Regions from separate parts of the Homo sapiens genome. Here region 1 is linked to region 2. The links are contacts of gene promoters, found by promoter capture Hi-C in blood cells and fetal thymus (Javierre and others, 2016). All regions are on one chromosome and are shown on one strand. Each heading gives the region's core, a stretch centred on a gene start or on the middle of the fragment in contact. The rest is flanking DNA. Distances are from core to core; before and after follow the strand shown. Region 1 holds the start of TLR7 (toll like receptor 7). Region 2 holds the start of TCEANC (transcription elongation factor A N-terminal and central domain containing).

Region 1 (2,833 bases), core at 323-2,822, 790 kb after region 2:
TTGCAAAGGACTTGAAAAATAGTCTATTATTTGAGCCTCACAGTGGCCCTGGAAGGCAACAGGGGAGGGATTCTAATGCCTATTTCATAGTCAGAGAAATTGAGTTTCAGAGGACTTTGATGACAGGCACAAGGCCCCCCCAACTAGTGACTGGGAGAGCCAGCGCTGACAAAGACTCTCCTTAATTCAACTTAATCAGGCTCTACTACACCCCTAGGCTTCGGCCTTTGGCTTCATGTCCATCTTTGCATTGCCCAGTTCAAGCAGGAATCCTGCTAAGTCATTTTATTGATAATCCACTCCTCTTGGTATGTGATCACCCTCAATATCTGATCAAATTCCTCATCTCCCACCATCCACAGGTGAGGTCTGATCACCCTGGCCTGTCTTCAGCAAGAATCCTGTCAGGTCGGTTTAGCCAGAATCCTTTTACCCTTGATGTTTCCTCTTAGTAATTTTCCATCCACTGACCCCCACTCTACTCCTTGGCCAGAAATCTTTACTGGTCTTTGGCTGTATTTGGAATTGAGCCCCTTTCTATACTGAGGTCTCTTTCTGCCGATTGCAATAGTCCTGATAGTATCTTTATCTACTGTCCAAATTTAGTTTTCTTTGACAGCACTCAAGCCCGGGGATTTCCCGTATTTTATTGCTATGAGCCTGCCCACACACTTTCATCCACACAGTCATTAAGACAACACCATATGCTGGAAAAAGCACAAAGTAACTTCAGTAATTCAGTGATTTGTTATGGCTTTAAAGCCAAAATTGTAGGCTGAAGAAATGAGATACATAGAAGCTATGTCCCCAATTCAAACATCTGCTCCTCCTCCCCACAGCACATATTTAATTCTTGTAGGAAGTTGAACAGAGCAAGCGTTGATTAATCTGAAATTGTGACATGCCCCCTTCATTAATGCCAATTGTGAAATATCAGGAAGCACTTTCCCCCAGCAAATAACCTAAGTACAGATTCTTCAATATTGCTCTTGCCAGCTGGTTTCAGTTGTTTCCACAAAGATTACAGATAACACTTTTTAAGGTTCTCTGAGCTGTTCTTACCATTTTTAGTCTTCTTCCAAAATGGAATGTAGAGGTCTGGTTGAAGAGAGCAGAGCATGAGAGGTGCCAAGATCAGCTTGAGATGGGCCCAATAGCATCAACTAAGAGAAAGAGAAGACATCAAAGTTTACATTTCAAAGACAGCACAATACTGTAGCTTAAAGACATGCTAGGATCATTGCTTTAAAATGCGTTTGAAACATCTATTTACAGTATTTACTTCCTCAAAGTTAGGTAGACTGGAGACATATTCCAGAAAACCATTTCTAACGTTACTGAAAGCCTAACTTTATCTTTGAAGAATTGACATTTTAGACTACCACATTTTTTATTTATATTCTAAAAAAAATTTTTGTGCATATGATTTCGGTTCCCTCTTCTCTCCTCCCCACTTCCTTATAACAGCACATACATCTACCTACTTAAATTATCTATATGTGTTCCAATGTTTAAAATACCTTTCTTGATGGCATGGAGTGATCCTATATCTGGAGTCTTCTGAGATGAAGTGATGGGAGGCAGGAAGTGTAGTCACAAAGACTACAGGCAGCCAGCCCTGGAGTTTCCAACTACAAAGATCAGGTCGGGGGATGGGGAGGAGCATGATTATTTAAGCCACCCCAGATATGGGCTTTGCAAAAGCACGGGGTTCCTCTTATTTCTATCACCACTATTGGGGCAACGTCTTGTCTAAATCCAAACAACTCTGTAGACCAAATTTCTTTCGTTTTTATAGCAGGGTTTCTCACCCTCAGCACTATTTACATTTTTGACCAGATAATTCTCTGTTGCACCATAGGATATTTGGTAGCACCCTTGCTCTATACCCACTAGATGCCAATAGCACTGCCCCCTTCCAGTTATGACAATCACAGATGTCTCCAGACATTGCAAATTATCCCCTAAGGGGCAAAAACACCCCGGGTTGAGAACCACTGTTCTATAGATATATTAGAGACATATCTAAATTTACCTTATTCTGTCTTAGACCCAGCTGGAAAGGATGCTGGTTTTTAAGCAGTGGCAAAGCTACCAGTTGGTTCACTCACTTTCCTCTAAAAAAGTTCAGCTGCATTTGCTTCTCAAAGTGTGGGCCCCAAGAGAATTGTTCCTTTCTTAACTGATTATTGGACATTTTGTAGATAGAGCCAAAATATGGTAGTTATGTTTAAAGTTCTTTAATCTACTTAGTCCACCTGGAGAGAATTTGGATGATGTAGAGTGTGGCACGGGGACTTCTGCAGATAATGATCAGGGTTAACATATACTGGGCTGAAAACTCAATGGTGCAATAGAGCAGCTCAAAAACCAGATACAGTAATAAGTGACATTTATTGAGGGTTTTTTATGAGCCAGACACTGTTTTAATGACTTTATATGTATTATCTCATTAAATACTAAAACTATATAAAATAGAGATCTTATTACCCATTTTTTACAAATACTGGAATTTATAACAGAAGAAATATTGGATTTGCCTCAAGTCACATAGCAAGTGATACCCACACAGGCAGTAAAAACCAAATGTCTCCTTATTAAACCACTCTGCTATGCAACGATATGTAAAAATCAATAGTTTTCTCATACATAAATAATTACTGATCCAAATTGGTAATAGAAGAAGAGGTCCCATTCAAATCAGTGAGATCTGAAATGCTTTGGAAGAAAACTGATGGGAAATGCACAAGAACTAAGGTGGTGGGGGGAGGATGGGGACTATAATGCTTTACCTGGCAGGTGCAAGCTTTCTCTTTGCCCCACCAGACCCACT
Region 2 (3,072 bases), core at 153-2,652:
TCTACCAAACCAGGCATTGTTCTACAGCAGGGGGTCAGCACACTTTTTCTGTTAAAGATCAGAAGGTATATATTCTAGGCTTTGTAGGCCATACAATCTCTATGGACTACTCAACTCTGCTGCTATTGTAGCAGCAACAGCAGATACAGAAAATAACATAAATGGATAGGCATGATCTTGCTCTGGTAACACTTGTTTACAAAAACAGGCAGGCTGGATTTGGCTGCAGGCCATAGTTTGTTGACCCTTTTCTAGAGCAGGGCTGTGCAACATATATATAACATGTAAACCACAAATATGATTTAAAATTTTCCAGTAGTCATGTTAAAAAATAAAAATTGGTGAAATTAATTATACATTTTATTTAACCCAGTGTATCCAGAATAGTCATTTCAACATGTGATTAATATAAACAAATTGAGATATTTTACATTCTTTTTCATGCTAATTCTCGAAAATTCACTGTGTCTTACACTTACAGCACATCTCAATTCGGACTAGCCACATTTCAAGTGATCAAGCCTTATGTAACTAATGGCTATCATTATTGGGACGCCACGGTTCTAGAACTGATGCTAATATGGATAATGCTTGCTTAGGTGCATACCTATACCAAAAAGTGTATACAGTGCCAGGAAAAGTAGGCACGAAATATGGTATTGGATCCATATAAAAACTTATAAAGATTAGCTAATATTATAGTAAGCAAGGTGCACACATCTGCACAAAAATGGCCTAAACCCTGAGAAGAACGAGAGGAAAGGTCTGGAAACAATGTTTCCAGAAGTTTGTAACAAGTCAAAAATAACCTAGATCTGTTCAGATCTTTAGATCTCTTTAAAGCCTAAAGAGAAACTGTAACTTTCTAGCCCTAACCCACTTAACAGCTCCCCAGCTTCACAGGGAGCCCCGCCCTCTATGGAGAGAAACGATGCCAAATGTTGGCAGCGGTGTAGCGGTTACTGAACAGCCACTCAGCACTGCACTAGGACCATTTCCCTTAATGGTGACCCCTAGTAAAGGTGCAGCGAGAGGAAGGGACCAGCCCAACTGCCCGGTCTAGCCCGGGTTCGAGTTCCGGTGGGTGGGGTCGAGCAACATGCAAAGCCTGCCGCTAATCATCTTGGGATGACGGCCCGGCACCCAGCACACAAACAGCGACAGTCCCGAGGGTTCAGCCCACTCTGGCGACCTCGACAGTCGGAGAGGAAGGGGCGGGGGTGCGAGCACCTTCGGATCTACGCCGCCCAGGGCGCACCGGAAAGCTGCCGCGAGCCGGGGTGGGCTTCCGCTGGGAATAAGGGCTCGCCTTTTTGCGGGACACAGGCCCTGGCAAACCTGAAGCATGACTCACCGAAAAGCGCAGGCGCAGTTCCGGAGCCTTCAGCCGCCCAGTGCCCACGGAGAACTTCCGATCACCGGGACTGGGACAACGTCAAGGCTCAGCCAATCCAAGCCCACAGGCCGGCGCACGTGGTCCTGGGACCCAGTGCATGCGCGCTAGGGAAATGGCTGCCGTGGGACTGCGCTCGCGCGGCTTCCTAGAGGAGGAGCCATGGCCCCGCCCCGGGCCCGAGAGAAAGAAACTGCACTTTCGTTTTTTAGCAGCAAAGTTTGTTGATGTACTTTACAACTTATCTTTTCTGCTTCTACTCAGGACAGTCAAGACAGTGCTCAGCTAGATGTTCACATAACTGTAGACATAAATGTGAATCTATTTAACGCAGTAATTAATTCAAAAAGTGTTTTTAGCATCCTAGCATGCATCAGTTGATATGAAAGTAGTAAATGTTAATTGAGTGGTCTTGTGCATCCTGGACTTCTCATCTGTGCATATTCTCATTCTTTGCCTGCAAAGGGCCAGTAAAAGCACAGTGATGGTTGAACGAATGTGACAGCCTCCTTTGCTGATGCCTTACCCCAAGGTAATTTGGGGAAAGGTTCAGGGAAACAGAGTATCCAATCCAATACTCTGGACTGGGTGCTGGCAGGAAGGAGGGCGATTGTATGATTAAGTATCATAATAAATCTTACCTAAAAGGAGGGGAGACAAGACCAGTGACTCATTAACTGGGATAGGGGATGTTTGGTCATTTTTGTGGTTTGGACAATGTTTACGTTTTTTCAGCATTCCCACGTGATTACGAAGGAGTCTTGTTTTTGTCTTGATCCATCTGGTCAAAGAGTGGCCACGTCTGATGGTGTTCTGTGAAGTATTTATGTTCCACGCAGCACCAAGGCCCAGCTGTGACTGCCGGGGCAGCTCAGAGCTGTCAGGGGTTACTTTTTTCTTGCTGTCTATTATAGGGCTAAAATGTTTAAGGATTATATAATACCTTTTTAAAGAAAAAATTATTTGGCTGGGCGTGGTGGCTCATGCCTGTAATCCCAGCACTTTGGGAGGTCGAGGCAGGCGGATCATGAGGTCAGGAGATCGAGACCATCCTGGCTAACACGGTGAAACCCCGTCTCTACTAAAAATACAAAAAATTAGCCAGGCGTGGTGGCACGTGCTTGTAATCCCAGCTACTTGGGAGGCTGAGGCAGGAGAATCGCTTGAACCCGGGAGGCGGAGGTTGCAGTGAGCTGAGATCGAGCCATTGCACTCCAGCCTAGCGACAGAGCAAGACTTGGTCTCAAAAAAAAAAAATTATTTAATGACACTTGTCACTTGTTAAAGCATGGTAAGGAAGACTTTATTCAGGACCATTGAGATAGACATAGGTACCACTGCAACAGGGTCTTGCAGTGGGGAAGAGAGATTGGGCTCAACTTCAATTGTAGCATGGAAAAGTGAGAATTTATAGCCAAGGAGCAAGGTAGGGGGGTCAGTGGATGGAAAATTATTAAGAGGAAACATCAGGGGTAAGGGGGATTCTGTCTAAACCAACCTGACAAGATTCTTGCTGAAGACGGGCCAGGGTGATCAGATGTCACCTGGAGGTTGGTGGAGGATGAGGAACCAAATCAGATATTAAGGGTGATCAGATATTGAGGGTGGTTGCTTTTGGCTAAACTGATTTATCAAGGCTTTTTGCTAAAACTGGATTTTACAAGGAAGTGCACAGATAG

Evidence for each region. Contacts are between HindIII fragments. The CHiCAGO score rates a contact against its expected background, and 5 or more counts as called.
Region 1: the fragment with the promoter of TLR7 here is called in contact with the fragment with the promoter of TCEANC in region 2 in 1 of 17 cell types (monocytes); the score reaches 5.6 in monocytes.

The regions. Positions count from the first base shown.
Region 1 is chrX:12,865,811-12,868,643 of GRCh38, reverse strand. TLR7 (toll like receptor 7) reads right to left here and starts at 1,572. Exons shown (of 3, transcript NM_016562.4): 1 at 1,521-1,572; 2 at 1,063-1,163. The coding sequence starts at 1,065. RefSeq lists enhancers at 525-644, 665-734. The HindIII fragment of the contact is 8,610 bases long and covers 1-2,808 here.
Region 2 is chrX:13,651,471-13,654,542 of GRCh38, reverse strand. It overlaps TCEANC (transcription elongation factor A N-terminal and central domain containing), which reads right to left and starts at 1,402. Exons shown (of 5, transcript NM_001297563.2): 1 at 1,355-1,402. It overlaps LOC107985657 (a long non-coding RNA gene), which reads left to right and starts at 1,104. Exons shown (of 1, transcript NR_171573.1): 1 at 1,104-2,046. RefSeq lists enhancers at 1,180-1,269, 1,530-1,719 and a silencer at 1,290-1,601. The HindIII fragment of the contact is 12,822 bases long and covers 1-3,072 here.